4 separate regions of the Homo sapiens genome follow, and all the other regions are linked to region 1. Evidence: promoter capture Hi-C in 16 types of primary human blood cells and fetal thymus (Javierre and others, 2016). All regions are on one chromosome and are shown on one strand. Each heading gives the region's core, a stretch centred on a gene start or on the middle of the fragment in contact. The rest is flanking DNA. Distances are from core to core; before and after follow the strand shown.

Region 1 (8,000 bases), core at 3,829-6,328:
TCTTTGTGGTTAAAAAGGAAAAAAAAAAAAAAGACATGTTGGCCAGATGCGGTGGCTCACACCTGTAATCCCAGCACTTTGGGAGGCTGAGGTGGGCGGATCACCCCTGGCCTGCCCAACATGGTGAAACCCCGTCTCTACTAAAAACACAAAAATTAGCTGGGCGTGGTGGCGGGCGCCTGTAATTCCAGCTACTCGGGAGGCTGAGGCAGGAGAATTGCTAGAACCCAGGAGGCAGAGATTGCAGTGAGCTGAGATTGCACCATTGCACTACAGTCTGGGCAACAAAAGTGAAACTCCATCTTAAAAAAAAAAAGACAATGTTCGTGGGTCCAAACAAGACTTAATGGAAGTGAGTCTAAAAATGAGCTATGTGGGCCAGGCGTAGTGGCTCCCACCTGTAATCCCAGCACTTTGGGAGGCCGAAGCAGGCAGATCATGAGGTCAGGAGATGGAGACCATCCTGGCCAACACGGTGAAATCCTGTCTCTACAAAAATTAGCTGGGCGTGGTGGTGCCTGCCTGTAATCCCAGCTACTCAGAAGGCTCAGGCAGGAGAATCGCTTGAACCAGGGAGTCGGTGGCTAGAGTGAGCCGAGATTGCATCACTGCACTCCTGCCTGGTGACAGAGCAAGACTCCATCTCAAAAAAAACAAACAAAAATAAAAGATAAAAATGAGCTATGTGAATTAAAAGAGGTATAACAATAGATAAACCATATTTTATTTAATTCCTAGTAATGAGTAATATTTCCAAACTTCTGGAATGGGCAGAAATTGCTAGTTGGCATATTTTTACCTTTTATATTCAGATACATTAAAATTCTCAAAAAAAAACACCTCAAAGCAGATGATCCGCCATCTCCTTGGATAATTTGTGTTAACTCAGGATAACAGAAAACCAAAATTATGAGTTACTGATGCAATATTCCTAAATGTAAAAATAATTAAAGCTAATAGTAGATTCATCTTCCAATTTCATATCAGTCTTACAAATAAACTACATATATAACTTGCTTGCCTTCCCTTCTGAGGGATAAAGCTGTTAGAAGAATTAAAATCAGCATTCTTGACTATTCAACCAAGGGAGGGATAAATTATTACTCATTCTAGGGACATGGGCTCATAACTACTACATGTGTAAGGACATGAATTTACCCAATATTACAATTTTTCCTTTTATTAGTGTGTACAGTGGAAGAATAGACATGTTCACTCTGGACAAAAAAAAAATTATACTTATCAGTTATCAGAAGCACAATGCTGAAGACAGTAGTTCCATAACAATTTGAAGTATGTGATCGAACTAGTAGATTATCTTAGTAGTAGTGAATTATTGTAAATGTTAGTAATTTGGCAGCCACTGGGCAGAAAAATAAGAATTGAGGCTCAATATTGATATTAATGGTGGTGATTGACACATAAATTTTATCAAGTCTACACAATATAAAATTACAGAAAGGTAGAAGAGTATACCAGTACAACTTCAACATATCTTCACTACAAGGGAGTAAAATGACATGGCCTAGTTACTATCTAATGAACTGCAGAAAACTAAAAGAAAACTCCAAGGCAACTCTTCTCTGCTGATCTGGTTGGTCCTTTTCCTACCTTTTGCAATACCCAGATACAAACAATGGATAGAAAACAAAGTAGACTTGTAGTATGCAGGTCACAGTGCTAAATTCACAGAAAGAAACCCCTGAACTGAACTGCTCTATTTCCTGGTGGTCACAAAGAGTAATTCTGGTTTACACCTACAGATTGATGTCAATCTACACCCTGTTGATAACAGTGTGGCCAAGGACAAAAAAAAGGTGCTCCGTTTTACCAATTCTGTAAAAAATTATTGGCAGGGTAAGCTCGGCTAGGGCAGGATTACATTTCTAGGACTACCATCCCCGAAATTTAGAAGATATTATATCCACATAAAGCATATCTTTCACATTAATTTGCAAAAATCTAAAAGCTTTTTCTTAGCTCAAGTGTGTCCAAGTTTACCCTGGCAGTTTAAAACGATAGTTACAAGCAGCATGGGTTGTATCAGACACATTTGAGGGCCAATTTCATGTAAGTGATATTGGGCAAGTTACTTCAACTATCTGTGCCTCCAAGGTCATACTAGTGTTTATTTACCTAAAGGGTACCTGTTATGTAACTTTAGGGTGTTTACATTAGATAATGCCTGCAAAATATTTACTTCAACGCCTAAAACATAGTTAAGTATTCAATAAATACCTACTATTGTCACTACTAACTTAAAAGTTTAGAGATTAAGAGCAGAATCTGGGGTGAGACAAACTTAGGTTCAAATCCTAGTATTGTTGGGTAATCTTGGGCAAGTTACTTAACCTCTCTGATTTGTGTAATTTAAAAAATTAGTTAATATACATAACAGGGCTTAGAAGAGTATCTAGCACATAGCACCATTTAAGCATTTGTTATTGCTAACATGCAAACAATTTAAGGGAAAGAAATTTTTTAAAAAGGAAGAGGGATTTGCAAACTAAAAACAATGAGTATCTTATGTTCAAAGAAAACTAACAAACAGCCAGCTCTAGCAATAATTAAATTCACTATATACTGGGGCAGGCATCACACCCCAAAGCTAAAAGCGTCTACCTAGGCCAGGCACGGTGGCTCATGCCTGTAATCCCAGCACTTTGGGAAGCAGAGGCGGGCAGATCGCTTGAGCTCAGGAGTTCAAGACCAGCCTGGACAACATGGCAAAACACCATCTCTACAAAAAATACAAATATTAGGCCGGGCGCAGTGGCTCACGCCTGTAATCCCAGCACTTTGGGAGGCCAAGGCGGGTGGATCACCTGAGATCAGGAGTTCGAGAGTAGCCTGGCCAACATGGTGAAACCTCGTCTCTATTAAAAATACAAAAAATTAGCCAGGCATGGTGGCAGGCGCCTGTAATCCCAGCTACTCAGGGGGATGAGGTAGGAGAATCGCTTGAACCCGGGAGGCAGAGGTTGCACTGAGCCGAGATCATGCCACTGTACTCCAGCCCGGGCAACAAGAGCGAAACTCCATCTCAAAAAATAAATAAATAAATAAATAAAATAAAGTACAAATATTAGCCAGGGATGGTGGTGCGCACCTGTAGTCCCAGCTACTTGGGAGGCTGAAGTGGGAGAATCCCCTGAGCCTGGGGAGAATCACCCGAGCCCGGGAAGTCGAGGCTGCAGTGAGCAGTGATTGTGCCACTGCACTCCATCCTAGGTGACAGAGTGAGACCCTGTCTCAAAAAAAAGAAATTGGCAGAATTAAGTAAGTTGATGTTTAGAGATGAAAAATCAACATTTTTTCCTCAGCAACTGAATAAAAACAACAGCCACTACCATTTTTTTGAGTACCTATTTGTAGCCTATTTTTTAACTGGTATTACTCGAGAGAGAGAGAGCTAGGTTCGAGACAGAGCTCCTTCTCTTAATAACTGTATGACCTAGGGTATGTCTGTTAGCCTCTCTGAGGCTTCAAAGGTTCCTCATCTGTAAAATGGTAATAATCATACCATTGCTACAGGGCTGTTTTGAAGACTAATTAGGACTATGTAAGTAAACATGATGATGGCTATTATTACTGTTCCCCGCCAGGGGCCATGCAAGGGTTGCTGATTCACATAGACTGTCTTATAATCCTCTCAATAACTCCAAGAGGTAGCCAGCACCTCAGATATACATAAAATGACTTAAGCCCAGAGAGGTGAAGTAAGTTGCCCACAGCCACACAACTAGTAAATAGCCCAAACAAGCTGGATTCCCAGTTAGACTCCGTTAATAGCACTGCTCTTTACCTTAAGTCATTACAATGCCTAATATGAAATAGAATCGCTTCTTTCTTAGGGTTCAAGTGGTTAATTATTTAATGTATTCATTCAACAAACCATCATCGAGGACCTCTTACAAGCCAAGTACTGTGCTAAGTGCTAGAGTTACGGCGGTGATTCCTGCCCTTAAAAAGTTTTAGTGGGAGAAACAACAGGTAACCAGGTCATTGCCAAAACAACAAAAATAATCATAATAAAGCAGGCTAAAGCATATTTAACTGGCCGGGGTTTTGACTATTTTAGCAAGCATGATCAGAACGGTTGAGGAGGGAGGCCAGCAGCTTGGCCGGTTCAACAAACAAGAAAAAACCAGTGAGGGTGGAGCTAAGATACCAGAGGCTGATTACGGTTAAGAATGTTCTTGAAGGTAAGGACCAGATTCTCATTTTCTATATCCTGGGGCATCGGTCAGCATGGAATCTGGATTCTAGCACATGTGAATTTCGGCTTGAAATGACCTAATGCCTTTTCCCTAGTTCCTTCGTGTGTCAAATACGCATGGTTACCGCTACCAGAGCTGTAGTGGGGCTTCAATGAGGCCATGAGCATCTCCATAAAGATGAACTACAGTGTGTGCAAAACTAAAGGCAAAACCTGGTCCCCACACGCCCTCCCAGGTGGTCGCTTTCCGTGCCGAGGCCCCTCCAGAGGTGCCCCGAGAACCTCACCATCGCACCCCAAACTTCCAGGGAAGGGCCTCTCCCGAGAAAGCCCCCACGCCCCCACCCCGCGCCATCATTCCCGAATCTGCCCTCGGCCCCTCCCCGCAGCACGCTCGCAGGCGGCACATGTCAACCAAAACGCCATTTCCACCTTCTCTTCCCACACGCAGTCCTCTTTTCCCAGGGCTCCCCCGAGGAGGGACCCACCCCAAACCCCGCCATTCCGTCCTCCCTGCCGCCCTCGCGTGACGTAAAGCCGAACCCGGGAAACTGGCCGCCCCCGCCTGCGGGGTTCCCTGGGCCCGGCCGCCCGAGCCCGCACTGCGGATCCCGCGCCTCAGGGCCCGGCCGCCACCTGCCGCGTGGGCCTGAACCGGCCAGGGCCGGCAGGCCGAGCTGCTCACCACGACGCCAGGGCTGCGGGTCGCCATAACGGAGCCGGCCGGCGCGCGGGCTGACTGCTCAGGAGGAGGAAGCCGGTGGCGGAGCAGAGGAGGAGGCGGAGGCGCAGCAAGAGGCGGCGCCGCGCGGGAAAGCCGAGAGGTTCGCCTGAGGGCTCGTCGCAGCCGCCTGAAGCTGAGGAGAAGCAGGCCCCGCCCTCTGCCCGCCCCGCCACGCCCCGCAGGCCCCGCCCCCGGCCCCGCCCGCGCGCCTACGCCGGCGCCTACCAGTTTGCAGGCTCACTAGGTAGCCGTGGGAATTTTCTCCCAGAAGAAGCCGAGGCTCCCCCAGCGAAGCCCCTTTCCCTCCCAACTCAGTCTCCTATTCAGAGGGCTCCCTGATTCCCAAACCTACCGGCGCGCGTTGCTTCATGGCGGCCGTAAACCGGGCCCCGGCTCTTCGGGTTCCAGTCATCGCGTGAATCCTTGGACCAGACGTCCCATTCCCAAGACCTTGCACTACCTGTGGCTTCCATTTTCCTGACTCTTGGCCCAGTGCTTCCCCAAACCCTTAACTGGTTGTAACAGTTGAGACCTAGAGTCCTAGAGTCACCCAGATCAGGGTACACATCTGAGAGGACACTTAACTGCTCTGTAGTTTTGTACAAATCAGACTCTGAGCCTCTATTTTTGCCTCACTAAAATGAGCATATTAGCCCGGCGCGGTGGCTCATGCCTGTAATCCCAGCACTTTGGGAGGCCGAGGCAGGTGGATCACTCAAGGTCAGGAGTACGAGACCAGCCTGGCCAACATGGCGAAACCCCATCTCTACTAAAAATACAAAAATTAGCTGGGCGTGGAGGCGGGCGCCTGTAATCCCAGCTAGTCCGGAGGCTGAGGCAGGAGAATCACTTGAACCCGGGAGGCGGAGGTCGCACTGAGCTGAGATCGCACCACTGCACTTCAGCCTCCGCGACAGAATGAGACTCCGTCTCAAAAATAAATAAAAATAAAAATAAATAAAAATTTAAAAATAAAATGAGCATATTAACAATACATAAACAGGATCATTTTGAGTATTAGAGGAGTATAGGTATGCGTGTGTGTATGTATATATATATGCACTTAGGACAGTACAGTCAGCAAATGGGAACTACTGTTATTACTACTGATCTTTATTTTTGCCCACACAAGTTCTTATATTGAATCTGAAAACAAAAATATGTTCCCCTGCTAATTAATTCTCAGATAGGTCAGGTAAGCAAGCAACAGTTGCTCCAGCAACACCATTTCTTATATACTCAACCCTATAGCTCCAGCATCCACCACAGTGCCCAGCACATAGTTGGTGGCCTCCCTCTTATTAAGGACGCTGAGGGGTATGTGATGGCAGGAGATTTGTAAAACTAGGCAAGTCATTGAGCTTCTCTGGACCTCAGTCTCTTCATCTAAAAAATGAGAATAATAAACCTGGGTAACATGGTGAGACTCAGTCTCTACAAAAATGAAAAATTATCTGGGCCTGGTGGCCATGTGCCTGTAGCCCCAGCTACTTGGGAGGCTGAGGTGGGAGGATGGCTTGAGCCCAGGAGGTCCAGGCTGCAGTGAGCCAAGACTGTGCCACTGCACTCCAGCCTGGGCAACAGAGAAATATCCTGTCTCAAGAAAAAAGAAAAAGAGAGAGAGAGAGAATAATAACTACTGCCATGAAGAGTTTTACGAGAATTCTAAAAATCATTTATGTAAAGTACCTCATATAGTATTTGCCACATAATAGGTGCTCAAGAAACAGTAGCTGTTATAATTTTAGCATGTATGAATTTGTGAAGTCCATACTTCCCTACTTTCCCTGTCTTCCCTCTTTATCCTGGAGAGGCAGCAGGCTGTAATGGAAAAGGGATGTATGGGCTTTGGACTGAGTTCAAATCCTGGGTTCCCCACTATTATAGCATTTTGACTTTGGGCAAGATCCTTGGTCCCTGCGTGCTTGGTTTCTTATACGTCAAATGAGGTTAATATCTCTGTCACAGAGTGTGGTGAAGATTAAACAAAATAATATATGCAAAAGTGCCTAGCATAGAGCTTGGCTCAATACATGATGATACCAATGTTACGTGTTCCATAATAATTTTGCCTTAAACAGTTCACTTTCTTCTAGCCTCTAAGACTTTTTTTTTTTTTTTTGAGACAGAGTCTCGCTCTGCTGCTCTGCTGGAGTGCAGTTGAATGATCTCAGCTCACTGCAACCTCTGCCTCCCGGGTTCAAGCAATTCTCCTGCCTCAGCTTCCCGAGTAGCTGGGACTACAGGCGTGTGACACCAGACCTGGCTAATGTTTGTATTTTTAGTAGAAAATGGGGTTTCACCATGTTGGCCAGGCTGGTCTTGAACTCCTGACCCCAGGTGATCCGCCCATTTTGGCTTCCCAAAGTGGTGAGATTACAGATGTGAGCCACCACGCCCAGCCTGCCTCTAAGACTTCTTATCCATTCCCCTGTTGATGGACATTTGGGCAGTTTCCAGGTTTGGGCTATTAGAAATAATGCTACTATGAACATTTTGTACATATCTTTTGGTGAATATATGAATGCATTTCTATTTGGCATAGAACTTGAAATTCATATTAGAACATTTTCATTACTTATCCTTTTAACAAACATTGTGTTCTATCAGGAAGTTAATTCAGAGAACTTCCGGTTATATATTCGTCCCCTGACACATGTGGTCTCAGCTACTCAAATTTGTTTCTAAATTAGGTACCCAACAATTCAGAATCCTTCCAGCTTGCCTCTGGCTTGCAGTTCCTTTCTCCAAATCCTGCAGTACCAGATACTCCTGTATTTTAATAGTGGATTTGAAACAAATAATGATAGCCAGATGATTGTAAAAACAAAGAAACAGTACTGTTCTTTCAATCTTGTCATTCTGTGTGACAATTTGGACTTTTTATTTGTATTTAAAATGGAAAACAGCAAACACTGCAATCTGCAAGATGTAAGACTTTTTCTTGGTAAGTGAAAATCTGGTTCACATATGAAATGGTTTACTGAATTTCCACATTATATTTAAAGTGGAAATGTATTCTTCTAAAATATTGTTTTCCCACTACAGACAAAAGCA
Region 2 (8,000 bases), core at 3,373-5,872, 440 kb before region 1:
TAGAGTTATACATGTTCTTAAGTTTGCAAGTTATCTTAAATCTTTTTCTCATTATGTTTCTGTTGCATGTAAATTATTTTAAATAATCGAAATTATTCTGTTTAGCCCACAGTTTAAGGTTTTCAATATGTTTTTAGAGGATTATAAACTAGAAAATACAGTTAACAGAGATTTTTCACATTGTTTCTAAATTCCCTCTTGTGTTTTCAAAAACAGGCACCTTTTTCAAAGTAGGCCCTAGTAGAGTTGTTACTTAATTTTTTTTTTAAATATTCGTTTTTTTTAAATAAGTATTCAAAGACTTCAGAATTCAAAAGATACAAAAGGATATCCAGAGAAAAATTCCTTCCACCCCCATTTCTCTCTCCAGGGACAAACGCGGATATCCTTCCAAAGAATTTCACCCATATCCAAGATAATAGGTTTACATATTCTTATCTCCCCTTTTTTTTTTTTTTTTTCTTTTTGAGACAGAGTCTCTCTCGCCCAGGCTGGAGTGCAGTGGTGCAACCTTGGCTCACTGCAAGCTCTGCCTCCCGGGTTCACGCCATTCTCCTTCCTCAGCCTCCTGAGTAGCTGGGACTACAGGCGCCCGCCACCACGCCTGGCGTGGTGTATTTTTTTTTTTGTATTTTTAGTAGAGACAGGGTTTCACTGTGTTAGCCAGGATGGTCTCGATCTTCTGCCCTCATGATCTGCCCGCATCGACCTCCCAAAGTGCTGGGATTACAGGCGTGAGCCACCGCGCCCGGCCTTATCTCCCTTTTTATACAAATGGCAGCATGCATTACACACTGCACCGCTCCTTGCGTTTCTCACTTAACACTACCACTTGAAGATCAGTCCATCTCCAACTACACAGTCTCCTCTTGATATCTGGTATCCCAATGAATGGATAGACTGTACTTTATTTAATGAATCCTCTTTTAATGGACAGTTGGGCTGTTTCCAATCTTCTTTTTTTTTTTTTCAGATGGAGTCTCACTCTGTCTCCCAGGTTGGAGTGCAGTGGCATGATCTCGGCTCACTGCAACCTCCGCCTCCCGGGTTCAAGTGATTCTCCTGCCTCAGCCTCCCTAGTAGCTGGGATTACAGGTGTGTACCACCACGCCCGGCTAATTTTAGTATGTTTAGTAGAGACGGGGTTTCACCGTGTTGGTCAGGCTGGTCTGAAACTCCTGACCTCAGGTGATCCGCCCACCTTGGCCTCCCAAAGCGCTAAGATTACAGGTGTGAGCCACCTCCCCTGGCTTGTTTCCAGTCTTTTGCTATTAACAACAAAAAACTAGCTCTTACTGGGTGCCAAGTTCTGTTCCATGTTGTTTCACATAAATCATTTTATTTAACCCTCAGCACTGCAGAGAAACCTTTCACCTACATGACTTCACACAAAAAGGGGAATATATATGCCAGATAAATCCCTAGACGTACGATCTCTGGAACTGAGGCTATGTGCATTTAATTTTGGCACATGTAGTTGTTATGCCAATTCACCTCCCCACAAGCAATGTAAGCACATGCTTGATCGTTCCCATCATATGCTATCAAAATTTGAGTTTTACTAATGGGACAGGTAAAAAATTGTGTCATAGTATGGCTTTAGTTTGGGTTTCCTTTGCTGTGAGTGAGGTTAAACATCCTTTTGTAAGTTCAAGGACAATTTCTATGTCCCTTTTCTATGAAGTAAAGTTTTTTTGCCATGCAGAGTTTAAAAAGTTATACAGATGAATTTATCATTTTTTGTTTGTTTCTGTCTTCAGAAACAGTTTTTCATTTGTTTGTTTGTTTTTTTCCCAAGACAGATTCGTGCTCTGTTGCCCAGGCTGGAGTGCAGTGGCACAGTCTCGGCTCACTGCAACCTCCACCTCCTAGGTTCAAGCAATTCTCTGTTTCAGCCTCCCGAGTAGCTGGGATTACAGGCGCACGCCACTATGCCTGGCTAATGTCTGTATTTTTAGTAGAGACGGGTTTCACCATGTTGGCCAGGCTGGTCTCAAACTCCTGACCTCGTGATCTGCCTGCCTTGGCCTCCCAAAGTGTTGGGATTACAGGCGTGAGCCACCGAGCCTGGCCTTCAGGAACAGTTTCTTTTTCTTTCTTTCTTTTTTTTTTTTTTTTTTGAGATGGAGTCTCACTCTGTCACCCAGGGTGGAGTGCAGTGGTACGATCTTGGCTCACTGCAAGCTCCACCTGCCGGGTTCCAGTGATTTTCCTGCCTCAGCCTCCCAAGTAGCTGGGACTACAGGCACACGCCACCACGCCTGGCTAATTTTAGTATGTTTAATAGAGACGGCGTTTCACCATGTTGGTCAGGCTGGTCTCGAACTCCTGACCTCAGGTGATCCGCCCACCTCGGCCTCCCAAAGCACTAGGATTACAGGCGTGAGCCACTGTGCCCAGCCAGGGACAATTTCTAAGTGAAAAAAAAAACAATTTGGTTTCTGTTTTTACATCACTGTTAGAAAGCCTGAGGTTTTTTTGTTTGTTTTTCTCATTGTTTCTTCTAGAGTATTTATGGCTTTATTATTATTTTTTAATTTTACTTTTTAAAAAAAACTTTTATCTGTTTAGAATTTTCCCTGATTAAGGAGTGAAAGATAAATTATTTTTTTTCTAGATAGATACCTGATTTAGCCAGCATTTATTGATTAATCTATCCTCCACAAATCAGAGATACCACCTTTTATCCTAAATTAAATTCTCATCTCGACAGAGTTTTAGAATGAGATGGTGCATATAATTTTGTGATGCCAAATTTGGATGTTCTCTTCCTAATGCTTCCTAAGATAGTAATTATACAGCTTACCATTTTTTATTGAAAAAAAAAAAAAGAGAACACATCAAACTTCTGAGAGCACATTATCCCAATAGAAATGTGTATGCTTTTGAGTAGAAGAAATAAAAATGCAAAATTAGAATTATTTAATCGGAAGCCTTTTAGAATAATCTTAGTTTGGTTTTTTTTTGGTTTTTTTTTTTTTTGTATAAACCCAGGAACTTGGTAATCTTAGTTCTGTTTTATTTTATCTTCTTTTTTTGAGACAAAATCTCAGTTTGTTACCCAGGCTGGAGTGCAGTGGCGTGGTCATGGCTCACTGTAGCCTCAATGTCCCTGGACTCAGATGATCCTCCCACCTCAGCCCCCTGAGTAGCTGGGACTACAGGCATGTTCCACTACCCCCAGCTAATTTTTGTATTCTTTGTAGAGACAGGATTTTGCCATATTGCCCAGGATGATTTTGAACTCCTGGGCTCAATAAATCCTCCCACCTTGGATTCCCAAAGTGCTTGGATTACAGGCATGAGCCACCGCATCTAGCCTTAGTTTTATTTATTGAAGTGGACAGACAGTGGAAAAAATACTGGACTAGGAGGCAGGAGGCCTGTCAACTTTGGTTTTTTGTTTTATTTATTTATTTATTTATTTATTTATTTATTTATGAGACGGAATTTCGCTCTTGTTGCCCAGCGATCTCGGCTCACTGCAACCTCCGCCTCCCGGGTTCAAGCAATTCTCCTGCCTTAGCCTCCCGAGTAGCTGGGACTACAGGCGCCCACCACCACACGTGGCTAATTTTGTATTTTTAGTAGAGATGGGGTTTCTGCATGTTGGTCAGGCTGGTCTCGAACTCCTGACATCAGGTGATCTGTCCGCCTCGGCCTCCCAAAGTGCTGGGATTACAGGCGTGAGCCACCATGGCGCCAGGCTTCAACCTTGTTTTTGTTTTTGTCTCAGTCTGGTCTCTTCATAATTAAATAATAATAATAACAACAAACACTTAGAACATTGCCTGGCCTTTAGTAAGTGTTATTCAAGAGCTTTACATACAGTATATTAATTCATTCAGTCTATATAATTATTAAAAAGTTTATAATCTGTTATGAATTATACAAATATTAGATATCTTTACTAAGAAAATGTTGATAGGCGCTTTCAGCTCAGTCAAAAAAACAAAAACACATCCGACACTGTTGTTAATTACATTCATGCTATAAAGTATGGAAATAAAGTAGAATGATTATCTGAAGCAGCCTATGCATTAAGTGCCTTCCTTTTTACCTTCATGTTTCTGTGCCTTTGTTGTTCCCTTGGTCTGAATGCTCTCCCCTCAACACTTAAGTGTGTACCCTTCTTTTCTTCCAAGACCACCTCAAATATCAACTCCTGGCCTTTCTTTTTTTTGAGATAGAGTCTTGCTCTATCACCTAGGCTGGAGTGCAGTGGTGTGATCTTGGCTCACTGCAGCCTCTGCTCCCGGGTTCAAGTGGTTCTCCTGCCTCAGCCTCACAAGTAGCTGGGATTACAGGCACCCGCCACTATGCCTGGCTAATTTTTGTATTTTTAGTAGAGACGGGGGCTTCACCATGTTGGCCAGGCTAGTCTCAAACTCCTGACCTCAAGTGATCCGCCCGCTTCGGCCTCGCAAAGTGCTGGGATTACAGGTGTGAGCCACCGCGCCCGGCCAACTCCTGGCCTTTCTTACAGGTAGAATTATTCATGTAGTCTTCTGATTCTCTAGCACCATATATACCATGGTATCCTTATAAGTATCTATTATAATAGAGGTAGCTTCAATATTTTTGCTTGTCAATTAGACTTGAACTTCTTGAGGGTAGAGCCTATGCATTATTCATCTTTGTATCTCTGCTCAGCTTCTGACATAGTTCTTGGCATATAATAGATGTCCAGCTGAAAGAAAAGAATAAATATTTGCATACATGACTATATAGCTCCTATTTGATAGAAGTTGGAAAGGCCTCTATCAGAATCAGAGCATACGAGCCTCAATAGCTGGTAAAACCAAATCATTCATTCGTTTTATTTCTCTTTGAATGTATGAGAACCCGAACTTGAAACTGTTAAATGGCTTATAGTCTATTTTAAAGGTGTGATCCACAGGGTAAAAATCAGATATTTTCTCTGATTGTACATTTTAGCTTTTGCATTTTATTTTTAAAAGCTATGTTTCAATTGTGGGGGCACGCCTGCAGTCCCAGCTACTCCAGAGGCTGAGGCAGGAGGATTGCTTGAGGCCAGGAGTTCAAATCCAACCAGGGCAACATAGGGAGACCCTGTCTCTTAAAAAAAAAAAAAGGCACACTTGGTGTGCTTGGTAAATAAGAATATTGATTATAATGAGATTAGGAAATAAATACAGAAACATCACGCTTATCAGGCATTCAGACTTCTGTCAGTTATAGCTATCTGGAACATATTCAGGAACCCAGAGGGAATCCAAAAAAGCCTCTGAAGTTGGAGAATAGCTCTCACAAAGCATGTGTACTTGATGTAGGAGGGAGAGGCACAGTGCCACTCACATGCCAAAGCCCTACTTACTGACTTCACATTTTCATAAAAAAATTCCAAGGACTGCTTAGCATGTGTGGTCATTCGGCCTCCTTTCAAGACATTTTAGCTTGTTTCTGGTTTCAGTAGAAAAAAGATTAAAAGAACTCTCCCACCCATGCTGCCAAGAAGGCACTAAATAAAGTATTGTTGACATGAGTGTAAAAATGATTCTCATGGTTTTCTCCAGAAATCATGGAAACTTACTTTGTGTTTATTTTTTAGTCTTTAAGAATTCTGCTGGACTCATGCAAAATCAGTTGTGACGATACTTAATTTATTCTACTTTTTAAAAAATCTGAGGTTTAAAAAGAGCGATATCCCTTTGATCTCACCTCTTTGAAAGGGGGTCATTAATTTGAGAAAGACTTCTTTATTCCTTTGAGTATTTAGATTATTAATCATAGGTTAAAATCCTCAATGTGAAAGGAGCATGTATAAACTTCTTTGCATAATTTGGTAAAAGCTATACAAGTAAGTCAAGGGAAAAAGTCAAAAGCCATGTTTAAGTGATTTGGGGACTTTTTTTGAGTCGGAGTCTCCCTCTGTAGCCCAGGCTGGAGTGCAGCAGTGTGATCTCGGGTCACTGCATCCTTTACCTCCCAGGTTCAAGCGATTATCCTGCCTCGGCCTCCTGAGTAGCTGAGACTACAGGCATGTCACCACACCCAGCTAATTTTTGTATTTTTGATTTTGCATTTTTGTATTTTGTATTTTTAGTAGAGACAGCATTTCACCACATTAGCCAGGCTGGTCTGGAACTCCTGACCTCAAGTGATATGCCTGCCTCGACCTCCCAAAGTGCTGGGATTACAGGCATGAGCTACTGCACCTGGCCGATTCAGGGGCCTGTTTTAATGCATGCTAAATATACTTTTTGTGTAGGGGCTATAGATTAATGAAAATTGGGATCATTCACTTTTCTTCTCGCTTTCTCCTTCTATTTCTAGATTGCCAAAATGCTTTGGAGTTTTTAACTGAATCTAAGAAAAGTCCAAAATAGATTTGAGACTGTAAAAACAGAAACTGCAGCAAGGGGGATTCAGTGCCAATGCATCAACAAAAAAGACAACCAGAGTTAGTGGAAGGAAATCTTCCTGTTTTCGTGTTCCCCACGGAGCTCATATTTTATGCAGATGATCAGTCAACACATAAGCAAGTGTTGACACTGTACAATCCCTATGAGTTTGCCTTAAAGTTCAAAGGTGAGTCTCCTAGCTCTATTTTCTGGGTTTTTAACTGGTCCCTACTAATTTTTTACTTGTAGAAACTAATTAAAAAAAAAAAACACTAATGGCCATTGTGACTTTTTCTTTCAGTTTTGTGTACTACTCCAAATAAGTATGTTGTCGTTGATGCTGCAGGTGCAGTAAAGCCTCAGTGTTGTGTGGATATGTAAGTCAAGATCAATTCCTGGTAACACGTTTTAAGTGTGTTAATATTTATGTTTTTAACTTGAAAAAAAAAGATATTTTCTTGAAGCTGTTCTCACATAGGCATTTATTATATTTTGAATTTTTGCCGAAAGTTTGTCTATCGAAATTGTTTCTAAGAGATTCGGCCAAATACTTAATAATATTTTATTACGTTGGAGCTCATGTATATGTTAGTATCTCCATGAACATTTTCTCATTGTTGTGGTTTTAGTCATACCAGGGATGCTTATAAAGGTAAAGTTCTGACTTATTCCTTTAAATTTCTCCAGCTATAATAGGGGATTTAGCTTTCCTTGGAACATACTGCTATTATAGTGACATTTGGAAAAATGTAATACTACAGTCTAAGAACAAGGGTAATATAAGTTCATCTGAAGTGATTCAACTAAAAGCCTGGAAGTTAATCTATATAAACAGGAAGCAGTTGTGCAACCACTCATCTGTAAAATATTATTTGAGCTCTTCCAGATAATTTCATCTTAGAGTGTCAGATAAATGATTGTTCAAGCTGTTCATATTTAATTTTTATTTTAGAACTAGTGGTGACCAGATGGATCCATTGACCAGCCCTTAATTTAAGCTACCAAGTACACTGTATTTGTTTAAATCTTCTGTGAGAATGAGAAGCAGAATTCTTTTCTTTTGAATACTTTTTCACCAGCTCAAAGCCATAAAATGATGTATCTTTGAGAACGTTTTTGCACATTTTTAAAAATTTTCATTCAGTACACAGTAAGCAAGAGCTATTACAAAGAAATGTAGTCTCTTGCCAAATAAATGTGTTACTTTGACCTAATTGTTTTGTGTTCCCTAGTACGAACAAAATAAAATAAATGGAATTGCAGAAAACCCATAAGAATTACAGTGTTTGGCTGGGTGCAGTGGCTCACGCCTGTAATCCCAGCACTTTGGGAGGCTGAGGTGGGAGGATCACCTGAGGTCAGGAGTTCAAGACCAGCCTGGCCAACATGGTGAAACCCCGTCTCTACTAAAAATAAAAATTAAAAAAAAAAATAGCTGGGCGTGGTGACAGGTGCCTGTAATCCCAGCTACTTGGGAGGCTGAGGCAGGAGAATCACTTGAACCCAGGAGGCAGAGGTTGCAGTGAGCCGAGACCACACCATTGCGCTCCAGCCTGGGCAACAAAAGTGAAACTCCGTCTCAAAAAATAAAATAAAATTACAGTGCTGTATACTCTTTTCTCTTTAGAGAAGTAG
Region 3 (8,000 bases), core at 3,903-6,402, 360 kb before region 1:
ATTTCACTATTTTTTGAATACTTGCTATGTTTAATGAGCTATTTTTCTGCTCAGAGGGGAATGAGAGAATTTTTTTCTTAAAAAAAAAAGACAGCTAATAAGCTGTTGTTATTACCCTCAGTTATTACTCAGAGACCTTACAATCCACTGAAGAAACCAGTCTTGGAAGCAGATTTTATATAAGAGACAAGGAAGTGCATGTCAAATGAAAGCAAAGTGGGGTGGGAATAAAAAGCAAAGATGAAGTGGGTGTGTGTAGGGGCTGGGAGGTGGAAGACAAATAAGAAAGGCATAAGGTGGTATTTCAGTTGGACCTTCAGAACAAGGAGTTTGCCAGCATAAGCAACAGAAAAGTGAAAGTGCTTGGCATGTTTTAAGACAGGATACTGGCCCTGTGTGAGTGGCACACCAAGTTCGTGGAGGGAGAAAGGACTCTGAGGCCAAAAGCGTGAAGATATTAGAAAGCTTTAAATGTCATGCTCAAAGAGTTTGAACTGTGGGAAAATGATCTACTCTGTTATACATAGGAGAAGAGCAGGTTACACCTAATAGCACCATCTATTTAACTTTGGAATAGATATACTCAGATACATATCATCAGCCCTGAGCCTGGTTCTATTGCTATCCAGAGAATGGGTATAAACATGTCACTCTGGATGCGGTGGCTCACACCTGTAATCCTAGCACTTTGACAGGCCAAGGCAGGCAGATCACTTGAGGTCAGGAGTTCAAGACCAGCCTGGCCAACATGGTGAAACCCCATCTCTACTAAAGACAAAAAAAAAAAAAAAAAAAAAGATCCGGGCGTGGTAGCAGGCGCCTATAATCTCAGCTACTCTGGAGGCTGCCACAGGAGAATCACTTGAACCTGGGAGGCGGAGGTTGCAGTGAACCAAGATCAACTGCATTCCAGCCTGGATGACAGAGCAAGACTGACTCAAAAAATAATAATAATAAAAAAAATCTGACAGTTGTGGACTCTTGACTGGCGCATAACTCAGACTGGCCTGTACTAATCATGTTCCAGGGTTGATATCTTAAGGAAATTTGTAATTCAAATCAATAATGCTACTAGCTGACCCTTCTAACAAAAGTCAGAAATCTTTTCTGGATAAAACTTATATTAAAGGGATACATTGGATATATAATTTGTTGCTATAGGCAATAGTGTTATGAACAACATGCTAGAGTTGCTGTTTTAAGCATCTATTTAATGTGATAATGGTGATAATACATGTAATGTGTTTAGCACAGCACCTGGCACAGAGTTTGTGCTAAATAAATGGTAACTATTACTACTACCACCATTATTACTACCATCATCAAACACTCTAGAATACATCCTTTAATGATACATAAACAATTTGAATTATATGCTAAGTATTTATAAAACTAGGCTATCTGTCCCCTGTTACCCAGCAGTTTCCAGTCTTTTCCTATTTGAACTTTCATTTATTTATTTTTAATATATTTTATTTTTTAGAGCACTCTTCAGTTCACAGCGAAATTGAACAGAAATTATAAAGAGTTCCCACATACCCCCCTCCGGCTCTCACACAAGTGCAGCCTCTCCCACTACCAACATCCCTCACCAGAATGGTGCATTTTTTACAACCAATGAACCTGCATTGGCACATCATTACCACCCAAAGTTCATAGTTTACATTTAGGTTCACTCCTGGTGTTGGACATGCTAAGGGTTTTGTATGACATGCATCCATCATTATAGTATGGTACAGAATAGTTTCACTGTCCTAAAATTCCCCTATGCTCTGCCTGTTTGTCCTGATCTTTTATTTTTTTTCTTTTTTCTTTTTTTGAGAAGGAATCTCAGTCTGTCACCCAGGCTAAAGTGCAGTGGCCAGTGGCCCAATTTTGGCTCAATGCAACCTCCACCTCCTGGGTTAAAGCATTTCTCCTGCCTCAGCCTCCCGAGTAGCTGGGATTACAGGCGTGCGCCACCACGCCCGGCTAATTTTTATATTTTTAGTAGAGACAGGGTTTCTCCATGTTGGCCAGACTGGTCTCGAACTCCTGGCTTCAAGTGATCCACCCGCCTTGGCCTCCCAAAGTGCTGGGATTACAGGCATGAGCCACCGGGCCTGGCCCTGATCTTTTTGTTTTTAACAGAAATAGGCTCACATTTTTTCTCATTATAAAGCATATATACTCAATATATATAATTTAATACATTCTGAGTCTTTCCATGTTAAAATTCATCTGCAACACCATTTTAAGTGCTGAATATTATACTGTAAGGACGTACCATAATAATAAGCAGCACTTTTATTATGTGCCACACGTTTTATCTCACTCAATTCTCACAGCAACCCCATGAGGTAGGCATTATTATCACCTTCATTTTGCCTCAGAAAAACTGAGGGCTACAGTGATTAAGCAACTTGTCCAAGGGGTTATGCAGTCATTGCTAGAACTGGAATTCAAATACACGTAACGAAGGCTCTTTCGATTGACCTATTCCCTATTGTTAGACATTCAGGCTGTTGCCATATTTTTTGCTAGCTCTTATAAATAATGTTGTAATAATATCTTTTAAGCTAATGTTTGTGCACATCCTTAATTAATTCTTTAGGATCAATTCATAGAGCTGGAGTTTCTGGGTTGCAAGGTTGTTGATACATATCACCAAGCTGCCCTCCAGAAAACTTATACAAATTTACTTCCCAGTAGTGTATTAGAATACCTATTTCCTCATACCCTCTCAACATTAGATACTGTGACTTTTTTTTCTTTTTTACTTTGAACCCCAAATATTGCTAATTTAAAAAATATTTACGTGCCCATTCTTAAGGCATACTATAAAAATAATCAAACTTTCAAAGCAAGCAGAAAACATTGTGATTTATACAGTGTTGGAGATTCTTCCTCAGTGTTTCCCTTTAATAACACTAATTGAGAAGTTGTGCAGTGGCATGAACAGAATCTGAAAAATTTAGGTTTTCCTGAAAAACTCTCATATACACATGGATATATATGTGTACATGTATACATTTTGCATGTATATGCATATATATGTATACGTGTATGTATATATGTATATATGTACATAGAATACACGTATACAAATATACATATATATACACATATATACAGATACACACACACACCTTTGAAGAGGCAGAATTTTAATACGTTTAATTCATGCTACTAAGGTTCACATCTGCATCAATCAAATGCCCAGAAAATTCACAATATATAACATGAAACACTATGGTTTATAAAGTTTATAATCTAATGAAAAAGATATATAACCTGAACTTAAATGTATACATATACTTTCTATAGAAATTATGACACTTTGGCTGTATTATAATGACATGTCATAAATAAGACAATTACTTTCTATTTTTTAATTTTTTATTTATTTAACTTTTATTTTAGGTTTGGGGGTACATGTGAAGGTTTGTTACATAGGTAAACATGTGTCACCAGGATTTGTTATACATATTTTTTCTTTTTTTTTTTGAGACGGAGTCTCGCTCTGTCACCCAGGCTGGAGTGCAGTGGTGCAATCTCAGCTCAGTGCAACCTCCATCTCCCAGGTTCAAGCAATTCTCCTGTCTCAGCCTCCTGAGTAGTTGGGACTACAGGCACGTACCATCATGCCCAGCTAATTTTTTTGTATTTTTAGTAGAGATGGGGTTTCACCATGTTGACCAGGCTGATCTCAAACTCCTGACCTCAGGTGATCTGCCCACCTTGGCCTTCCAAAGTGCTGGGATTACAGGTGTGAGCCACCGCGCCTGGCCTGTTGTACATACTATTTCATCACCCAGGTAGTAAGCCCAGTACCTAATAGTTATCTTTTCTGCTTCCCTCCTCACATCCTCCCCGCTCAAGTAGACCCTAGTGTCTGTTGTTTCCTTGTGTTCATAAGTTCTTATCATTTAGCTCCGACTTATAAGTGAGAAAACATGGTATGGCAAATTTCCTTCATAAAATAATGATGAAAGACTTCCCTAGAAGAGATTATTTTTAATTTATACCTAAGGGATGGGAAGGAACCAATTTAGGTTCAGGCAAAGGCTTAGGATTTCCCACTGAAAAACTTCATCCAGGAAATCATGAGAAGATAGACTGAAATTGATGACACCAGCAGGGAGATAGTGTGAAATGTCTGAGGTAGGTAGGATTTGAACTTGAGCTACAGAATCATAAGCTACAAGAATTTTTTAATTGGACAAAATGTGGATCAAATCTTGTATTGGCTGATTCTTTTAGTAATAATGTGAGAAATTAATTGCAGAAAACAAGGCTTCTGGAAGAGAATTCTCCCCAAATTAAGTACTACAAGTGGCGTTTGCAAAGGAATTACCTTAGATAATTTTTCCACATGAAACAAAGTATTAAAATAGAAATAATGACTTCACTGAGATGTAATAAACATCACTGGTATCTTTTGTGTAAATTTCCCACTGTGCCTTTTTCTCACACTCCAGGAAGAAAGAAAAGTCCTTGGAAGGAACCAAGAGTATCAGCACCAAGGAATGATGTCATGGTGTGAAGGTGGCTGGGAGTAGAAGTAGCGGGAGGTTAGGGAGGGTGCTGGGTGAAGCTAATTACTAAGAATTATCTCCAGTGAAAGGATTAAGATAGGAGGAAAAACCAAGCTTAGTTCCATTTAAGAGAGATCACAGAAAATTCATATTGTAAAGACATTAAGATTTTTAAAAATTATTTTTCATTTTCCTAGGTTTGCTGTTTTTAAGCCATTTCCTACTATAGTAACTAGAGATAAAATGCTCAGAAAATCCTAAACAAAGGGTTGTACACTGTGTTTATAAATGTCTCTGCCTAGTTTCAGAAATGATTTAAGATGGTTTATAATGCTACTTAACATGAACTGAACATGGGCTAGATGTGCAGGGCATAAAGCAGGATCAGGAATGTATTACATGCTTGCAACTTTGTGGGCCATACACTAGATTTGGGGTTTGTGGTTGCCAATAGGAAAAGCAAAACCTAATGAGACAGATGTCAGTAGGCCTAAAATTAGAACAGATGAATTGCTCAAGAAAAGCACAACCTTTTCTCTTAGGAAGATGAGACATTTCCCCTGCTTCCTTTGGAAGAGGAGGGGGTGGGGATGGAGAAGTGACGCAGTGACATCCGGCTTGAGCAGAAGTGCCAGAATTCCTGGTGGGAGAGAAAGGAACAGGCATGGCAACTTCAGAGTTCTTAGGAGATAAAGCAAAGGGGCGATTTGGGAGAAGGCATAGTCTCAAGGTCAGAAGAGGTCTTTGGGCTTCTGTTCAACAGAAGTGGGTGAAGTAATTTCCTGAGAGAAGTGAAGAAAATATTTGCACTTAATTAAACAAAATAATTGTGAGGGAACAGTTTTTTTTTTTTTTTTTTTTTTTACAATGCTTGGAAAATACGCATCTTTATTTTTGTGTTCATTCAACACAAAAACCCATGGCTCTTCAATGCCCTCTGTCACAGTGATTTGTTTCTAAAACACGGTTTTACCTATATACGTATGTATACACACACACACCCATATATATATATATATACACACACACACACATATAATATAAAATATATATATATACATATATATGTGTATATATATATTTTTTTCATATGGAGTCTGTCTCTGTCGCCCAGGCTGGAGTGCAGTGGCGGGATCTCAGCTCACTGCAAGCTTCACTCCCCGGGTTCAAGAGATTCTCCTGCCTCAGCCTCCCAAGTAACTGGGATTACAGGCGCGTGCCACCAGACCTGGCTAATTTTTCGTATTTTTAGTAGAGACGGGGTTTCACTATGTTGACCAGGCTAATCTCAAACTCCTGAACTCAAGTAATCCGCCTGCCTCGGCCTCTGAAAGTGCTGGGATTACAGGCGTGAGCTACTGTGCCCAGCCTGTTTTACCCATATTTAAATACATGAAAAGCAGCACCAATTTTTAAAATTGTGGTAAAATACACTAACGTGAAACTTACCATCTTAACCATTTTGAAGTATACAGTTCAGCAGTGTTAGGTACATTCCCACTGTTGTGCAGCCAATCTCCAAAACTCTTTTCATCGTGCAAAACTGAAACCCTTTAAAATTGTACCCTTGCAAAACTGTACCCTTTAAACAACAACTCCCCATTCCCTCCTCCTCCCAGCCCCTAGCAACCACCATTCTACCTTCTGTGTCTATGAATTTGGCTACTTTAGATGCCTGTGGCACCAATTTTAAGGATAGACCAGTATAGGACATAACCATTAAACTTATAGTTTATGATATCATTCAATAATATTTGTATTTTTTCAAGAATAATGTTTCTATTTTGTAATATAATATCTACTAGAAATGAAAACACCTGTATTGCTCATGCTTTGTGAAAAACATCCAACTAGTATAGAAATGCATAAAGTAAAAATAAAATTCTGCCTATAATGTCATGCTCCAGAGATATCTACTAAAGATAGGTTGATAGATATCCTTCTCGACATCTTTAAATATATATAAGAGCTTGCTATCCATTGATTTTGAACCCTGGGTCTAATTACTAGTTACATAATTAACTGTGGCTGCTGAAGATGGTAGGGTGGAAAGATAGAAGGAACCTGGGTCTCTGATGATGTCATTGGCCCACTGAACTAACCCGGCCTAGAACCTCCTTTTCTTGGGGCTTCTTATTATTTGAGATAATAATGCTCCTTATTGCTCCTTATTGTTTAAGTCTCTCTGTTTTTTGTTTGTTTGTTTGCTTTTGTTTTTGTTTTTGAGACAGAGTCTTACTCTGTCACCCAGGTTGGAGTGCAGTGGCGTGATCTCGGCTCACTGCAAACTTCACTTCCCGGGTTCAAGCGATTTTCCTGTCTCAGCCTCCTGAGTAGCTGGGATTACAGGCGCATGCCACCATGCCCGGCTAATTTTTGTATTTTTAGGAGAGACATGGTTTCACCATGTTGGCCAGGTTGGTCTTGAACTCCCGACCTCAGGTGATCCGCCCACCTTGGCCTCCCAAAGTGCTGGGATTACAGGCCTGAGTCACCTCGCCCAGGCTGTTTAAGTCTCTTCTAATTGGATTTTACTGCTTTTGCCAAAAGCATTCTAATTCATCATGTCATTCTCCTAGAAAATTCAGCAGTTCTATACTAAAGGTAAGTATATACTTACTTATGTCTTATAATAATAATGAAGTGATACTTAGACACAATAAAAGCATATGCATAGTATTGCTATAGCAAGCTAAACCAACAAGCCTTGAAATCCCCATCATCCAATAAGTTAAAATGACTTCAATTCTGCCAAACACAATCTGTTATATAAGATGGTTTATTTTAAATATACATTATATTAAACTGAACGTTATGCAAATTAGGAGCCTAGAATTCCTAAGGAATGTTATGCATTTTTAAAATGCCAAGAATCGCCGGGCACAGTGGCTTATGCCTGTAATCCCAGTACTTTGGGAGGCCGAGGCAGGCGGATCACGAGGTCAGGAGTTTGAGACCAGCCTGGCCAATATGGTGAAACCCCATCTCTACTAAAAATACGAACATTAGCCAGGTGTGGTGGCGCGTGCCTGTAGTCCCAGCTACTCAGGAGGCTGAGGCAGAAGAATCGCTTGAACCCAGGAGGCGAAGGTTGCAGTGAGCCGAGATCACGTCACTGCACTCCAGCCTGGGCAAGAGATCTGTCTCAAATAAAAAAAAAAAAAAAAAAAAAAAGAAAGAAAAAATATCCTTTAAGTATTTGGTACTAGAAAAAAAGATTTTAAAATTATAATTTTTAAAAAGCCAGGTGCACCGGTTGCTGACTATATGTACTATTACTGATTTAAAAAAACCCACATATTTATTGAGCATTTAGTATGTGCCAGTGCTGTGCTGAGTGCTTCATACTGACCAAGGTAATCCACAACAAACCTACAAAGCAGTTACTTTTACATTCCCATTTTACAGATGAGGGATTTGCCTCCCAAATAACTGAGCCTGGATGTACAGTGCCATTTATAGGTCCTTGGCTCTCAGTTATTC
Region 4 (8,000 bases), core at 3,422-5,921, 290 kb before region 1:
AAGTCAGGTAATGTGATGCTTCCAGCTTTCTTTTTGCTCAGGATTGTTTTGGTTACTTGGACTCTTTTTTTGTTCTGTATGAATTTTAGGATTGTTTTTTCTAATTTTGTGAAGAATTATGTTGGTATTTTGATAAGGATTGCATCGAATCTATAGATAGCTTTGGGCAATGTGGTCATTTTAACTAGATTAATTTTTCCAACCCATGAGCATGGGTTTTTTTTTTCCATTTGTCTATGTCATCTTCAATTTCTTTTATCAGTGTTTGTAGTTTTCCTTATAGAGATCTTTCACCTCCTTGTTTGAAGTTATTCCTACATATTTTATTTTTGTAACTATTGTAAATGGGATTGCCTTCTTTTCTTTCATGTCTAGATCATTATTGGCCATCATATAGAAATGCTAATGATTTTTGTACATTGATTTTGTATGCTGCAACTTTTTATTTTAAAAGAAGTCAAGCCTACAGAAAAGTTGAAAGAATAGTACAATAAAAACCCATATACCCTTCATGAAGATTAAACACTTGTTTACATTTTGCCACATTTGTTCTCTCTCTGTGTGTATACATATATATAACACTACATAGAACATACATATATATATATACATATTTTATGAACCATTTGACATTAAGTTGGAGATATCAAGACACTTTTTCAGCCTGTATTGCCTAAAAACAAGGGTGTTTACCTACATAATCACAATTTTGTTAGCACACCCAAGAAATTTAAGATTGACAGAATATTATTTTATTCATAGCCCATATTCAAATTTCCCGATTGCCCCAATAATGTCATTTAGAGCTTTTTTTTGTTTGTTTCAATCAAGGATCCCAAATTCAGGATCAAAGGTCATACAAATTCATGTACTTGTCATATCTCTAGTAGTCTTTCATATAAAAGTTTCCCACTTTTTTCATCTTTCATGAAATATTCATTTTGAAGACTCTAGGCCAGTTATCTTGTATCATGGCCTAAAATTTGGATTTGTCACATTGTTCCCTCATGAATATATTCAGGTTAAACACTTTTGGCAAAGATACCACATAGGTGGTTTCCATTGCCTCACGTCAGGAGGTGTATACAATGTCAATTTGTCCTATTGCCAAGTTGGATCACTTGACCAAAGTAGTGTAATCCAGATTTCTCCATGTAAAGGCACATTCTCCTCCTTTGTAATTAATATTCAATTAATATCTTTAAAGTATGACCATGTAAATATTCTGTTCCCCAATAATTTTCATCTGATAGTTTTAGCATTCATTATAATCCCTATCTGAATCAGTTTTTAACACAGTGGCTGCAAAGGTACGTTTTCCCAATTCTGTTGTTCCTTCCACATTTATTAGCTATCCATTCGTCTGTAAAGGAAGCTGACCCCTTTTGTTTTTCATGTCACTTCAAATTCTTTTTTAAAATTAATCTGTATAACCTGTTACCATTATTGGACTCGTGCCTGAATAGACAGATCAACAAAACAAAGCAGAAAGTCCAGAAATAGACCCAAGTATATATGAAAATGTAATCTTTTTTTTTTTTTTGAGACGGAGTCTTGCTCTTTCCCCCAGGCTGGAGTGCAGTGGCGTAATCTCGGCTCAATGCAACCTCCGCCTCCCGGGTTCACGCCATTCTCCTGCCTCAGCCTCCTGAGTAGCTGGGACTACAGGCACCCGCCACCACGCCTGGCCAATTTTTTGTATTTTTAGTAGAGACGGGGTTTCACTGTGTTAGCCAGGATGGTCTCGATACCCTGACCTCGTGATCCGCCTGTCTCGGCCTCCCAAAGTGCTGGGATTACAGGCGTGAGCCACCGCGCCCGGCCGAAAATGTAATATTTAATAAACAGTTTATTACTGGGGCAAAGATGGACTTTTTAAATAAATTCTATTGGCACAACTGGATAGCCATTTGGACAAAAAGGTAATTTGGTCCCATACTTCACATTGTACCCTAGAATAAGCTCCAAATGGAGCTTATTATATAAAATATTTAAAAAATAAAAAATAAAACCATATAGGTACCAGGTGGTCCAAATATTAAAAAAAAAAACATATAGGCACTAGAAGAAAACGTCGATTAATTTCTTTATAATCTGGGTGTGGGGAAAGCCTTTTAAAATATGACTCCAAATCCAAATGCCATAAAATGATGAGTATTTTCAAGTACATAAAAATCAAAGTAAAAACCTTTTTTTGCATGGCAAAAATCAGATAGGCAAAGTCAAAAGAAAGATGATGAAGGCCGGGCGTGGTGGCTCATGCCTGTAATCCCAACACTTTGGGAGGCCAAGGCGGGCGGATCTCGAGGACAGGAGATAGAGACCATCCTGGCTAACACGGTGAAACCCCGTCTCTACTAAAAATACAAAAAATTAGCCGGGCGTGGTGGTGGGCACCTGTAGTCCCAGCTACTTGGGAGGCTGAGATAGAAGAATCACTTGAACCCGGGAGCCAGAGGTTGCAGTGAGCCAAGAGCACTCCAGCCTGGTGACAGAGCAAGAATCCATCTCAAAAAAAAAAAAAAAAAAAAAAAAGAAAGAAAAGGAAAAAGAAAAGAAAGATGATGAAACTGAGAAAATACTTATAATGTATACATAAATAAAGGTCCAATATCCCAAACATATAAAGAACTTTTTAAATCTAAAGAAAAAAGGCTAAAAAGTCTCAGGAGGAAAATGGGCAAAAACATGAATACACAGTTCACAGAAGAAAGTATACAAATGATCCTTAAATATATGAAAAGATACTCAACTTCACACATAGTAAGAGATGCAAATATATTTAAAATACACAGTCAACTTGACCATCTGGATCATTTGGAGAGGAGGAGCAATGCCAGGTTAGGTTAAGTTCTCCCATTTAGGCACTCCTTGATATCCCTGGGCTTCACCTTTTATGGCACTTATCTGACTTGTAATTACAGTGATTGTTTAATGTCTGTCTTCCATACTAGTTACCAAATGTATAAGAATAGTGACCAAGACTATCTTATTCACACTGGTATCCCCAGCTCCACGCACAAAGTAAATGCTCAATTAACATTTGTCAAATCAATGAACAAACAAACTACAGAGTACTTATACTCACCAATAAGAGCTACCACTTAATAGTTGGATGAATGAATGAGTAACGTGGAGGCAAGGAATTGAATCTAAATCTATGTTTTCTGTAGTTCTCTCTCCCCGCTTCTCTTTCAGTTCTTGCCCACTTTCCATGGCAAACTCTCTCTCCTATTTTTTCTCCCTAATTTCCATCTAATTTCCACATGCTAGCTAAAGTAAAACCTTCAGCATGGCCTATGCTCATAAAATGTGTGCCTAGATCAAAAATAAGAAAAGTTGCAAATTTACATGATAAATTGGATGTTAGCATCTGAAGTGCTTTAAAATGGCCTGCTTTCTTATGTTTCTATAATTATTTTCTTATGCACCAAAATAAGAAAACTGAAAAATAATTTATTGTTAAAGTCATTCCAACATTTATCTTATTGCTAAAACTGCTTCCTACCGTTTCATTGCAAACCTACAGTATTTTAGCTTTACTTTTGTGAATCAAATTGGAACTCTAACCAGCGTAATCTTGTCTCTTCAAGAAAATGCATTGTAGGCACCAAAAAAAAAAAAAAAAAAAAAGAACAATAAATGTTCGAAATGTAGCACATTTGTAAATTGGAAGACAGCTTGTTTATGAGTGCCTGTTGATTAAATTTGTTAATGAGCCCTTAAGAAATTGCCCCTTTTTCTCCTACCACTAGAAATCCTTGATGGATTTTTCTATTACATCTAATTTTCAACACATAGAATAAAGCCTTCCATCTATGTTGACTTTTACCTCAGAAGTTGAGCGAGTTACTTGATTTTTACAAGCCCAGAAAAATAGGCTTCCCCCTAGACAGTCATTGTAAAAGGAGTCTCTTGGTAGCAGATTCCATTTTTTTCTAATACTATAATTATAGATCGATCCAATAAATGTTACTTTAAAATTTTGCTCAGTGGAAAGGCACTATAGAAAAATCTCATGTATTAGCCTAAAGCAGCTTGAATCTACTCCCTATCTTGTGAATGTTTAGGAGTTTTGATAGCCTATATAAATAAGTGTGCTGCATAGCAGCAGTTATTACAATAAAACAATATTCTGCTGGATTTTGTTGAAGCTTTGATTAATGTGAATATAAATTGATAGGGACAACAGAAAGTTTGAGGTTAAAATTTAGGTAGCAACCTTGCCATAACGTATTGTAAAAGTACCATATGCTCATTGGATAATATATGAAAAGTAATGAAAAATAGAAAAAAGTTTAAAGTGAAAATAAAAATCACCATAATTACGCCAGGCAGAGACAGCTGTGTGTTTGTGGGGTTTTCTATGTGATGGAACTCAGATGCTATATGCAATATTTTAGTCTATGGAAGCACTTAAACATTGATAGTATTTTTTAAAGAAATATTTTGTGTCATCCGGGGTATTTAAGTTTTATGGTTTAGCACACTACTCTGGAGAATGGTTTGAGACTCCCGAGTCGAGAAATCAATTCACAGAAGTCCTGTTTCAATTACCTGCAGATGTCAGTGTGGATCTGAGTGTGATTCAACACTTTGTTCCAGGATGTGGTGGGACAGTTGAAGTCCAGTTGTGAACCAGTTGCTTATTAAACAAATAACAGTTTAGTTTGGATGAGAAATGTGAGCTGTAAGGACCTCAAGTCTCCGAAATTTCTTTTTATAAAATCTAAATAAGCATGGATATATTCTCCAGTTACATCCAGTTCACAGAAGATTATACCATCTCGTTCCCGCCCCTGATTGTTTAAACAGCCTAAGATTAGTTATAGTGCTGGAGAAGTAGAGTTGATGTCGTTGGGCTTATTAAATTTGACTCCAGCCCAGATGGCAGGTCTGAGCGATACATTAGGAGCTGTGTTGGTTTACTTTTTGCTGTTATCGTATATTTAAACTCAAAGTTTAAAACTGATGATTCCAGCTCTAAAAGGGCATCATCTTTGCCATTGCTTCTGATGCTTATCTGCTTTTCTACATGATCCCGCTCTTTCATGCAACTTCGTGACATGAAAAGTCAATGTCGATTAGGCTAGGAAAATGTCAGGGAGACTTGCAGTGGCTCATTTTACCAAAACACAATTGTTTCTCGGGCCACGACACAAATCTGCCATCTGTTTCATAAGCTTGCAGGCTTCCTCTGAAGTATAATTTGCTATATATATTGGTACAGAAATTGTTGGTAGCTTATGTTTACCTAGCAACATAATCTGTTTGGTAGAAGGCTGTGGGAAAGGAGGCTTTGTGGAGGAGGATTTTCTTTTTCTTTCTTTTTTTAAAGAGAGCAGTTTCTTCATCTACAAATTATCTTTAAGTGCAAGAAAGGCGGATGTGCTGGCCCAAACAATCTGCCTTTTATACCATTTTAACCTAAATTGCCTAGTAAATGCTCACTTTGGGAGTTATTTTTGCTATGTCAATTATCTCATATATACATGAATGCCCTCTTTTCAATTTATTTTTCTTTTCATACAAATCACTGTGAAATAACTGCCTTGACCTTCTAGCTGTAAAAGATCACCGAGCTTTGGGACTGCCTGCATCTGTCCAGTGTGTATTTCTCCTGTTTCCCAGTGCTCTTAGTGTGACTTGTGGGTTTTGAATGTTGAATTTACATTTCAAGGATGTTTGTCAGGGCCTGGTAGTCTTTAAGTTAAATGTAACAAAATCAAGCAGCCTGCACTGTGTTGTCTGCATTACATTAATTTTCATTTAATTGAATGAGCTGTATATTTCTACCTACCCACTTTCTTAGCTTTCTTATCAGCAGAGCAATGTGTCTGTTGAAAGAAAAAAAAAGCCAAGGGGAGAAAAAAAAGTTTTGACTTTCCTTCATGTTAGTTATAGACATCATATGCTGGTAAAGGTTAGAGTGTACTTTCTACATTCATTTTGAGAAGGGGAAGAAAGTGTTGTCCTGTCAACTTCCTTCATGTAACACCAAGGTATAATTTGCTGCAGGCTTATTGCATGATATTGCCCTTCTGAAAGTGACGGGTTTTTCATTTTAATCTATAGCTATTATGTAGTTCTCAATGAAGAGGCAATGTGGAGGTTACTAACCCACTTCCCTCTCTAAAAAAAAACAAACAAAGAAGAAATGAAAAGAAAAACGAACTTCTATATCATCCTGAGACTTTGAAACTAGTCCTGAGAAAAGACTGTAGCAGAATTGTTATATGGACAAAGTTCCTTTAGCCAGAGCCATCCCATGTCTTTCATCTTGCAGCCTTTGTTTCTGCCCCCTTGAGTCCCTAACTCTTCACAAGCCCAGAAATCTCCTCACAATGTAGCCTCACAGGAAAGCACTGATAACTTCTACAGAGTTGGCCCTGACAGTTTTGCAAGGGACATAGGAATTAACTGGGTTGGAAAGCAGGTTTCCTTGCATCACTGGGAGCAGCCATTAATAATACAAACATTTATTCTTGGTGTTCTCCAGTAATGCTAGTCATGGAAGTGAGAAATTGACAGCTTGAGTTGTGAAACTGAGACCCATTTTTATACAGAGCAGATAGTTAAAGGCAAGTGAGAGAAGATGAGCTAATGAGAGAAGGGTTGACAAAAGAAGAGCAGAGGACCGGGCTTTTGCAACAGAAGGGAGATGTAGGATGAAAGATCCTGGAGGAGTGAATGATCAAGGAGGGAAGCTTATTGTCTTATTTAACCAACACTTCTTCAGCATTGGTAGTGTGCCAGAGACAAGAGATGGGAGGAACAGGATAGAGAGGAGACATTTTTAGGAGGGTGATGAATGAAAACAAAATGGTAGAAGATGCCCCAAAAGTCTTTAGTGGCTTTATTTCTGTCGAGAAGGTCGGAAGTCAGATTGCAGAGGAGCAAGAAAGGAATGCAGCATTCATTCTAAAAGTTTGGCAGCATTCTAGAGACTGGTAGCTGGAAGGGTAGGAGGGTCACTTGTAGAGCAGTTGTTGATGTTGTTGTTGTTGTTGATGGTGATGCAGTTGTCTGCATGAGATTGAAGAGCCAATGGGATAGGAAATAAATCAGAGGTCCCTGGTGAGCAGTGCTGTCCACTAGAACTTTCCACGATGATGGGAATTACATACATTTGCACCGTCCCATTCAGGAGCCGCCAGCACCACGTGGCTGTTGAGTACTTGAAATGTGGCTAGCACAATCAAGAAACTTCATTTTTAGCTTTATTTCATTATAATTCATTTACATTTTTCTTTTCCTTTTTTTTTTTTTTTGACAGAGCCTTGCTGTGTTGCCCAGGCTGCAGTGCGGTGGCATGATCTTGGCTCACTGTAACCTCTGCCTCCTGGGTTCAAGCGATTCTCCTGCCTCAACCTCCTGAGTAGCTGGGACTACAGGTGGCGCCCCCACACCAGGCTATATATATATATAAATATATATATATATATTTATAAATATATATATATAAAAATATATATATATAAATATATATATAAATATATATATATATATTTATAAATATATATATATAAAAATATATATATATAAATATATATATAAATATATATATATATATATATATTTTTTTTTTTGTATTTTTATTAGAGACAGGGTTTCACCATGTTAACCAGGCTGGTCTTGAACTGCTGACCTCAGGTGATCCACCTGCCTCGGCCTCCCAAAGTGCTGGGATTACAGGCTTGAGCCACTGCGTCCGGTCATAATTCATTTACATTTAAATAGCTACACGTGGCAAGAGGTTACTATCTAGGACAGCAGAGGTCTATAAGGAGAAAATAAATGTGGGAGTAAGAAAATGGGAAGAGATGAATTCTAGAGCAGAGTAGGAGGCAGTAACTTAGTATTTAGGAAAAATCTTCATCTGATGAGAGATGCTCTCACATCTCCAATAGCTAGGGGAGTTCAGACCCATAGCGTAAATGTTTTCAGCAACCGAATTGTCAAGCTCATCTACTAAAAATGGGAGAGTTGAGAGGAAGAAG

The links. Contacts are between HindIII fragments. The CHiCAGO score rates a contact against its expected background, and 5 or more counts as called.
Region 2: a fragment that was not itself captured here is called in contact with the fragment with the promoter of HPRT1 in region 1 in 1 of 17 cell types (non-activated CD4 T cells); the score reaches 5.8 in non-activated CD4 T cells.
Region 3: a contact is called between a fragment that was not itself captured here and the fragment with the promoter of HPRT1 in region 1, in 2 of 17 cell types (M2 macrophages and fetal thymus). The highest score is 5.8, in M2 macrophages.
Region 4: a contact is called between a fragment that was not itself captured here and the fragment with the promoter of HPRT1 in region 1, in 1 of 17 cell types (endothelial precursors). The highest score is 5.8, in endothelial precursors.

Annotation. Positions count from the first base shown.
Region 1 is chrX:134,457,243-134,465,242 of GRCh38, reverse strand. HPRT1 (hypoxanthine phosphoribosyltransferase 1) reads right to left here and starts at 5,078. Exons shown (of 9, transcript NM_000194.3): 1 at 4,905-5,078. The coding sequence starts at 4,931. RefSeq lists silencers at 4,807-4,986, 5,087-5,206. The HindIII fragment of the contact is 6,801 bases long and covers 1,972-8,000 here.
Region 2 is chrX:134,897,832-134,905,831 of GRCh38, reverse strand. It overlaps MOSPD1 (motile sperm domain containing 1), which reads left to right. Exons shown (of 6, transcript NM_019556.3): 2 at 6,298-6,552; 3 at 6,667-6,742. The coding sequence starts at 6,399. Among named protein-coding and RNA genes, the nearest start is that of MOSPD1, 13 kb to the left of the region's middle. The HindIII fragment of the contact is 9,641 bases long and covers 1-8,000 here.
Region 3 is chrX:134,818,626-134,826,625 of GRCh38, reverse strand. The region is part of intron 3 of PABIR3 (PABIR family member 3); the gene reads right to left. Among named protein-coding and RNA genes, the nearest start is that of PABIR3, 15 kb to the right of the region's middle. The HindIII fragment of the contact is 1,037 bases long and covers 4,634-5,670 here.
Region 4 is chrX:134,750,392-134,758,391 of GRCh38, reverse strand. It overlaps a transcript of PLAC1 not described here. Among named protein-coding and RNA genes, the nearest start is that of PABIR2, 43 kb to the left of the region's middle. The HindIII fragment of the contact is 1,029 bases long and covers 4,157-5,185 here.